Regions from separate parts of the Homo sapiens genome. Here region 2 is linked to region 1. The links are contacts of gene promoters, found by promoter capture Hi-C in human tissues and cell types (Jung and others, 2019). All regions are on one chromosome and are shown on one strand. The core of a region is centred on a gene start or on the middle of the fragment in contact, and the rest is flanking DNA. Distances in the headings are between cores, read along the strand shown.

Evidence for each region. Contacts are between HindIII fragments. The study calls those that stand out against the background at their distance.
Region 2: a fragment that was not itself captured here is called in contact with the fragment with the promoter of TMOD2 in region 1 in 2 of the 25 tissues and cell types used here (dorsolateral prefrontal cortex and psoas muscle).

What each region holds. Positions count from the first base shown.
Region 1 is chr15:51,750,119-51,754,594 of GRCh38, reverse strand. TMOD2 (tropomodulin 2) reads right to left here and starts at 2,998. Exons shown (of 10, transcript NM_014548.4): 1 at 2,883-2,998. It also overlaps a transcript of LYSMD2 not described here. RefSeq lists silencers at 2,585-2,644, 2,675-2,784, 2,835-3,264 and an enhancer at 3,375-3,444. The HindIII fragment of the contact is 8,938 bases long and covers 1-4,476 here.
Region 2 is chr15:52,021,238-52,026,044 of GRCh38, reverse strand. The region is part of intron 1 of MAPK6 (mitogen-activated protein kinase 6); the gene reads right to left. Among named protein-coding and RNA genes, the nearest start is that of MAPK6, 4.4 kb to the right of the region's middle. RefSeq lists an enhancer at 541-1,121. The HindIII fragment of the contact is 8,453 bases long and covers 1-4,807 here.

The DNA.
Region 1 (4,476 bases), core at 1,749-4,248:
TACTTTAAATTAGTATTTTCATGTATACATAAACACATATAATCCAGGTAAAGCAAAAATATCTTTGCAGCAAGGGATTCCGTGTAAGAGATTAAGTGTTGTAAGAGTTGATTCTGTTTTCGTGGTCTGGTAACAGGAAGTCTCTTCTGCACATGCCTTCTATGAACCTCTTTGAACCACTTAAAGTCTATAAGGAAAACATTTGGTTGTATATGATTTACACACAAGGGAATGAGAGGAAACCCCAAAACTTCTATCCTATCACAAAGCTAAATCATTTTTCCCCCAACACTACCCTAACCCAAAATAAAATGAACCACTGCCTATGTTCTCAAACTTCCTTACACACTGACACAGATCTCGGACACAGAGAGGAAAGGGACAGCACTTTCGGGATGGTTCTTGGGTAGGGCTAGAATTTCTTAGGTATGGAGAATTACTAATACTTTGAAGTTGAAGCTAGAGGATGGGGTACTTAAGCATAAATGATTGAGAGTAGCCAAGATAAACCAAAAATGGGAACACCAACCCCCCGTCCCCCCCACTCACACCTCCAATAGGTGATTTCAATTTTGGGAAGGTGAAGCCAAGAAATTCCCCACAGATTCACTGCAGCTGTTTGTCACGAACCACCCCCGTCTTCTACAACACTTTCTCTTTATTCGCTTATTTATTTTATTGACTTCCCCATTTCTTAAAGTTCAAATCTATAGAAAAGTTAAAAGAATAGTACAATAAACATTTGTTTTCTTCTTGATTCACCAACCGTCATCATTCTGCCACATTTGCTACGTTCCTGAACTTGTTCTGCTACCCCTATCCTTTTTTTTTTTTTTCTGACACAGCTGAAAGTTGCAGATGTCATGACACTTCACCTCCAATATCCACATCTCCAAAGAATAAGGATTGTCTGGTCTAGGTAACCACAAGAATGAACTATTATTGCACCTAAGAAAATTAACACCAATTCCATAATATCATCTAACATGCAATCCATATTCAAACATCCCCAACTATCTCCAAATTGTCTTTTATAGCTTTTTTTTTTGCATCTAGGATTCAAAGTTCACACATCCCAATTCACTATTGTATCACTTGAGTATTTTAACCTACAATAGTTGCTCCCATTTGCTCTGCCCCATCGCCAAGTCTTTTTGCAGGAACACTACAGAGGTGAAATTATGCCTCCTTATTGCTTCACAACGGGAGACTCGCAGTAGATGCTGCTAAACTTGGTCATTTGGTTCCAGTGGTGACCTCCTAATTTCTCCATTGTAAGGACAAATTTTCCCAGAGTAAACTGTGGTGAGATACTTTGAAATAATATGAAAATCCTATTCCCCAACCACCTTTCACTCAAAGGTTTTGGACCAGTTGGTAAGTCCTTGCCTTATTCAACTGTTATGTTAGGTTTGCAGAGCGCCGAGTTCCTGATTCTCTCATTCCTTCTATTGCATATTTCTTTTTCAAACAATGATCCATCAGTACGCAACTTCTCTTTTCTGTGTATACACATTCTGGTTACTTCTTGCTGGGGCTTCCTCCCCGACCTCCATGCTGACCACATTTGACCACTCGTGCCCAGCCCTAGGGAGCCACTAATCCTTTATCTGCTGATCCCATCACTTCACCTTCAGCAAATTAAAGACAAAAACAAACCCCATCATTTTGTTGCCCACCAATGTACAGTACCTTACAAAAATTAAAATGATTGCAATGCGTATTTATTGGGTTAGACTGAAGAGAGTCGATCGAGAAAATCAGTTTTATCTTTAAAAAAAAATCAGATTGCTGAAGCTCTGAAAAATCTTTCCTCCTCACTAGGGTAGAGGCGCTTGTTGTCACAATTAGGCTTTTTGTAGTGCTGTTAAACAGAAACACTCTCATCTTTTCAGTTCCCTGAGAGGGGAGAATCTTGGAAGAACAGAGGTTTACAAATCATTTAGCCCAAACGCCCCTTTACATGCAGAGGCCCAGAGAGGTGGAGGGACTTGCCCAGGTCCCTCAGCTCCTGAATGGTCAAGCTAAGAGGAGAACCTGGTTTTTAAAACACCTCCCCCGATCTTCTTTTCATTCCCGTCCTAAATGCCTCGTGATTCAGATATGTAATGGGCACAGACGAAGCTGCAGTAAGCACGGCCTCCTTCACTGCTAATTTGCATTGTGACGGCATCACCTTCCTACCTCTGAATACTCTAAAAATTCCCATTAGAAGCCTTTTATTACTGTTTTAAAAATCCACCTTCATTTCCGCAGGTCAACAGGGAACATTTAGGAAGCCTCAAGGGAGCACATACTACAATTACTTTAACCAGAAAAGTAATAACAATAATAATAAGGTTCTCGAGGATCCGCACGAGGCCGCTTACTGGGAGGCTGAAACGCCCTGCGAGTGACAGCTCCAGCGATCTCAGGAAAGACGCCGGCCAGTCCACCCCTCCCCATCGCCTGCTGAACGAGGCAGGGAGATGCATACCGCTCCAGGAGCTCACCAAACATGCACAGGAAGGGGAAAAGTGGGGGAACAAAGCCCGGAGTGGAAGAACACAGCCCCGCAGCCCGGGAGGACAGGAGACCGCGCCCTCCCCGCTGCGGCCCAGCGGGCTGCAGAGGCTGCGGCACCGCAGTGCGGGGCGCGGGACTCACACCCCGGCGGGCGCCTCCCGCCCGGGCGCAGCGCCTGGTCTCCCGGCGCAGCCGACCGGGCCGGGAGGCGAGAGGCGAGAGGCGGCCCGGCTCTGCACGCCCGCCCGGCCGACCGCCCATGTCGCGGAGCATCCTCCCGCGGGCAGGGAGGGCACGGCGGCCACCGCGCTGCGGGCCCGGGGGCTGCAGACACCGGCTGTCCAGAACAGGCCCCACCCGCCCCCCGGGGCGCTCACCCGTCCGTGCGCTCATCCCGGAGCCGGCTGTGCTGGCCGTCAGTCCGTCAGCCCCGGTGGAGCGGGGCCGGGAGAACAGGGGCGGCGCCGTGGCCGGGGCGAGCGCGGCGATCAACAGGCGGCTCCCGGCCGGGCGCGGCGCCGGGGCGCGCGGCTGCAGCGGAGCAGGCTGGGAAGCGTAGTTCCCGGCTGAGCCTCGCCGCGGCCCCGCAGTCCCCCAGCCCCGCCCTTCCCCGACAGGTGTCCTCTCCCGGAATCGGGGTCTGAACCCCGCCACAGCTCTGCAGGGGAGGAAGCACCTGGGTCGGGGAGAAGCCTGGGCAGGCTCTTTGGAGACGCTCGGGGCTCCGGAGAGCGTGGATGGCAAAGGCTTTCAAGCCTGTGATGAGCATTCCTGTGAGCGAGCATCCTGACACGGAAGCCGCGTTGAGAGCGGTCTCAGGTACAGACCCCGCCCGCCCCAGGTTTTCCTGGCTGGGCGTGGGCGTGGGAGGAGAGAGTAGTTGGGTTGGCAGCCTAGGGAGGGAAGGAGGTAAGCGAGGTGGAAGTTAGCAAGGCTCTAGGGTGATGGCGTGAGGGGCTGGAGAGCCCAAGCGCAGTGGCGGCTTCACTGAGGTGAGACCGGACAACTTAGCCTGTCTGAGCCTTCGCGTCCTCATCTGTAAAACAGGCTTCAAGCTTGAAAAAGTGTTGTGAGGATTAAGCGACCCATAGCACTTAGGATCTGGCACTTAGTGCATACTCAGTGAAAGTTCCTTCCTTGGGGTTTCCGAGGGAGTTCTTGGGCCGGGAAAGTCCTATATGTCGTGCTAACCTAAAGATAGTTGGACCTCGTTGGGCTGGGTAAATGTTAAAATCCACTGGGTTTGTTAGTCGTTGAGCCCGTTCACTTCATCCCTGAATATACCCTGAGATGTTCTGTCTGCCAGGTTCTTGAGAGCTCCAAAGATAGAGAAAATAAAGTCAAGTTTCTGAAGCATGACAGCAGAGTGGGGTGACATAGGACAAAGACCAACATTATGAAAATACATGGCATCTAGATTTAACTTCCAGAGGCCTTTTCTAATTAGATGTGATATCTCTCTCCTTCTTGAACTTTTGCAGCATATTTTGAGCATAACCTTTGCTTATGGGACTTATCTTGGCAGTCTAAGGTTCGTTGAGTTTTGCAAGTTGCTGCTATGCAGTGTTTCACATGATGGTGGGATTTGCATTCACAGATGTAGTGGAGGAAAATGAACCAAAGGGATGGATGCAGCATGGCTGGTGTAATCTCTATATGAAATTTTAGGCAAAATGTGAAAAGAGGTGAAACAGCTTTATAGTCTGTCTGGCACGAGGTGTGCAGTAATCGTGTGGCCAAAAAAACGTGCTGCAGAGGAAATTCCACATCTGAAAATGATAACACTGGTTTGCATTTATGAAAATACTTTCCTATTTGTGTTCTCATTTGATTTTTACAAGAACCCTTGTGAGACAGGCAGAGTGAAGGTATTTTTCCCCAATGATAGTTAATAAGAGGCACAGAGAGGTGATGTGACTTATTCAAGGTCATAGGGGTGTTCAGTAAGCCTGTCTTCTCTCCTTCCACTGT
Region 2 (4,807 bases), core at 66-2,565, 270 kb before region 1:
CTACTTTATTGAACACAGATGTATCAATTAGAAAATCAGCACTGTTTTATAATACATACTGAAATAATATCTGGGCATATTAGAAAAACTAAGTCAACATACTCTCTCTCCAATTTGTACATTAAGAAAGGACAATTATTAAACTGAGTCTAACCAGTTATTAAATTACAGCTTAGATTTTAGAGTGGGCAAAGATCATCTAGATCTGTGCTGTCCATGTAACCACCAGCTACATCCAACTATTTTTATTTTTTTTTGAGACGTAGTCTTGCTCTGTCACCCAGACTGGAGTGCAGTGGCGCTCACTGCAAGCTCCGCCTCCTGGGTTCATGCCATTCTCCTGCCTCAGCCTCCCAAGCAGCTGGGACTACAGGCGCCCGCCACCCGGCTAATTTTTTGTATTTTTAGTAGAGACAGGGTTTCACCATGTTAGCTAGGATGGTCTCGATCTCCTGACCTCGTGATCCGCCCGCCTCAGCCTCCCAAAGTGCTGGCATTACAGGCGTGAGCCACGGCGCCCAGCCCCAACTATTTAAAGGAATTAAAATTAAATAAAAAATTCAATTCCTCAAGTGCACTACTTGCTCGTCAAGTATTCAACAGTCACACATGGCCAATGGCTACCTCACTGGATAGCACAGAACACTTCTATCATCATAGAAAGTTCAACTGGGCAGTGATTAGCTTCCAAATTTTCCATTTGACTTTTTTCAGAAGGGCCAGTGGAAAGAGCAACTCAGAAGACTAACGAGCTGAGCAACCATGTATGCATCATTTTAATTTTTATTTATTTACGTATTTTTTGAGACAGGGTCTCTTGCTGTTGCCCAGGCTGGAACGCTGCGGTGCGATCACGGCTCACTGCAGCCTCAACCTCCTGGGCTCAAGCAATCCTCTCATCTCAGCCTCATAAGTAGCTGGGACTAAAGGTGTGCACCACTACAACAGGCTAATTTTATTTTATTTTGTAGAGACAGGGTCTCACTATGTTGCCCAGGTGTATGCATCGTTTAGCAGTGCTTCTCAAACTGAATGCGCACTGAATGACTTGAAAATCTTGTTAAAATGCAGGTTCTTCCCAGCACGTTAGGAGGCCAGGAGTTTGAGACGAGCATGGGCAACACAGTGAGACTCCAATTCTTAAAAAAAAAAAAAAAAAAAAAAAAGGCAGTGTATGATGGCACATGCCTGTAGTCCCAGCTACTGAGGTGAGAGGATTACTTGAGTCCAGGAGTTCCAGGTGGCAGTGCGTTATGATCACACCACTACACTCCAATCCAAACTGGGCAACAGGGCAAGATTGTGCCTCTTATTTACAAAAAAAGAAGGCCGGGCGCGGTGGCTCATACCTGTAATCCCAGCACTTTGGGAGTGCTGGGCGGGCGGGCGGATCCGAGGCGGGCGGATCACAAGGTCAGGAAATCGAGACCATCCTGGCTAACACGGTGAAACCCCGTCTCTACTAAAAACACAAAAAATTAGCCAGGCGCGGTGGCAGCAGCTGTAGTCCCAGCTACTCAGGAGGCTGAGGCAAGAGAATGGCGTGAACCCAGGAGGCGGAGCTTGCAGTGAGCCAAGATCGTGCCACTGCACTCTAGCCTGGGTGACAGAGTGAGACTCCGTCTCCAAAAAAAAAAAAAAAGAAAAAGAAAAAGTAGATTCTAAGATTCTAATTCAGTAGGACCGTAGGACTGAGATGAAGTCAAGATTCTAACGTCTATCAAGTTCCCAGGTGATGCTAATACTGTTGGTCCAGAAATCACACTTTCAGTACCAAGATCTTAGATCTCTTCAGGCCTTGGTTTCCTTAGCTGTCAAACGATGTACATGAATGAAGCAAGATAATGCCCATGACCCCTCCAAAACACTAATATTTTAAAGTTTTATGATTGTACAGAATTAAATGCATACAGATTTGCACTTTCTGCAGAGGCAGACTTTTCTGAGGTAAATGCTAGGATTCTAAAAAACAAGTTTTATGATACCATTTTTTTCTGTGAAAAAAATACCAAATTTAACGAAAATCAATGGGAAATTGTATTTGCTATACAAACATTCAATCTCTGAACAATTTTTTAGAAATGGACTTAGAAGACTGACATGTATAAAAGACAAAACTTTTAGAACTCTATTGGCTGGGCGCGGTGGCTCATGCCCGTAATCCCAGCACTTTGGGAGGCCCAGGCAGGCGGATCACAAGGTCAGGAGATGAGACCATCCTGGCCAACATAATGAAACCCTGTCTGTACTAAAAAAAATACAAAAATTAGCTGGTCATGGTGGTGCGCACCTGTAGTCCCAGCTACTCGGGAGGCTGAAGCTGAAGAATCGCTTGAACCTAGGAGGTGGAGGTTGCAGTGAGCCGAGATGGCGCGACTGCGCTCCAGCCTGGCAACAGAGGGAGACAGCGTCTCAAAAACAAAAAACAAACAAACAAAAAAACTCTTAGAGAGACACACATTATTTTCCAAATACGCAGTTCATGGAGGTGAAAAAACCAATCAATGCTGGACTAGGCCCAAATCACTGTCACCTTAAAAGCATCAGCTTCACATGAAAGCAACCCCTGGAAAATGCCATTAACTACAGTAACATTGGAGTTGTTTTTGTGAAGTCTCAGTCAAGGCTCTCAGCAATAAAAATGAGCAAAATTCCCACACCACTGGCAGGTTGTAGTGTAATGTTCAACAGCCCACAAAACAGGCTGAAGGAACTAATGAAGGCAGCCAACAATGCCACACAGAATTTACTTCTGAGGCATCTTCTTTCCATTTTAACAGGGGACCTAGAGTAACACAAGGTTCAAATGTAACAAAGAACTGGATAGCAGTGGTAAGAAGGCTCAGCATTTCATAAAGCAGTACCTTGGAGACAGGAAGCAGGCTAAGATATCCAGTTATTTTGTTTGTTTTTCGGTTTTTTTTTTTTTTTTTTTTTTGAGACGGAGTCTCGCTCTGTCACCCAGGCTGGAGTGCACTGGCACAATCTCGGCTCACTGCAACCTCTGCCTCCCGGGTTCAAGCGATTCTCCTGCCTCAGCCTCCTGAGTAGCTGGGATTACAGGCACGTGCCACCACACCCAGCTAATTTTTGTATTTTATTAGAGACGGGGTTTCACCATGTTGGCCAGGATGGTCTCGATTTCCTGACCTCGTGATCTGCCTCCTCAGCCTCCCAAAGTGCTGGGATTACAAGCGTTAGCCACTGCCCCCGGCCTCAGTTTGTTTTTAAACTCTGAATTATGCACTACAGCTAATTACCTATATTTGAAAACAATGCCGAAAATACGTTAAACCTCTAAGTAATGTGATGCTCTGAAAATTTTCAATACTTTTATATTTGTATTTTTATGTTTCCTCTAGTAGGAAATTTTTTTTAAGTTTGAATTAAACTTTGTAAAAAAAAAACCTCTAGGTATAAATCATGCAATACTCTTCCAAAATAGTTCCAAAAATTTAATTCACATTAACAATACATTTTATGGGCTGGGAGCAGGGGCTCACACCTGTAATCCCAACACTCTGGAAGGCTGAGGCAGGCAGATTGCTTGAGCCCAGGAGTTCAAGAACAGCCTGGGCAACACTGTGAACATTCATCTCTACAAAAAATACGAAAAACTAGCCAGGCATGGTCGCACACAGCTGTAGTCCCAGCTCCTCCGGAGGCTGAGGCAGGAAGATCACCTGAGCCCGGGAAGTAGAGGTTGCAGTGAACAGTGATCGCACCACTACACTCCAGCCAGGGTGACAGAGCAAGACCCTGTCTCACAAAAACAACAAACACTTTACTGTCCACAAACTCCTCAAATCCCTTTGGAAAAATAAACAGTATACACAGAAAAACCAGAGGATGGGGTGGGAAATTTTTTTTCTTTTATTTTAAAAATTGAGACAGGGTCTCGTTATGTTGCCCAGACTGGTCTTGAACTCCTGGCCTCAAGCGATCCTTCCACCTCAGGCTCCCAAAGTGCCGGGATTACAGGTGTGAGCCAACGCACCCAGCCCCACTCTTAAACTGCCATTCTCAATCTTTTTCCCCCTCTCAATCTTATTTTAAGCCACCTTGCTAAACGTTGGCTGTTTTAAAATCAGTCAAAAGATTTATCTTATTACCAAGTTTCAACTTAGAACTGTACATTCAGCTTATCTTTAAAAAAAAACCATGAAAAATAGTGACTAATACCTATTTCAAATTGTCTTTATTAAAACAGAAAATTCACATAAATCACAAAGCACAATATATAATTATGTTTTAATAATTCTGAGTGAAACTTTCATATTCAGAGCCATATCTGATTAAATATTAAATATAAAGATAACTTTCACATAACCAATAAAAACATAAGGTCAATTTCTACCGACACCATAAAAGTACTATCTGTCCTTTATAAACAACCTGTAACAAATCTCTCTCAGCAGTAGCCAAAAAACTGCTAGTATCAAACATTTAATTTCAGCACCTGACCAGAAATTGGTTTTACCTTTCCTCTCAGCAAATGTTACACAATTCCACCTGTAGGGTATATGATATCCTTTTAAAATGCAATTTAAGAAGCCATTACTTTTTTAGAGAAACTGCTGTTCCTCTTCAGAAAAAATGAGAGAGAATTTCAATGTGGACAGGAACATTTTAGCCTATCATTTAGAAAAAAATACAGTGTATTTAAAAAAAAAAAAAAAAAAAGCCACGTAGCAGTCCGTGGGCAGCATGAGTCATCATCCAACTCAAAACTTGCAGCAGCACTTGTAAGCTTCCTCCTACCCGACCCCCATCCCCTTCAGCAAAGTACCCTGAGTCAGCAAACCTT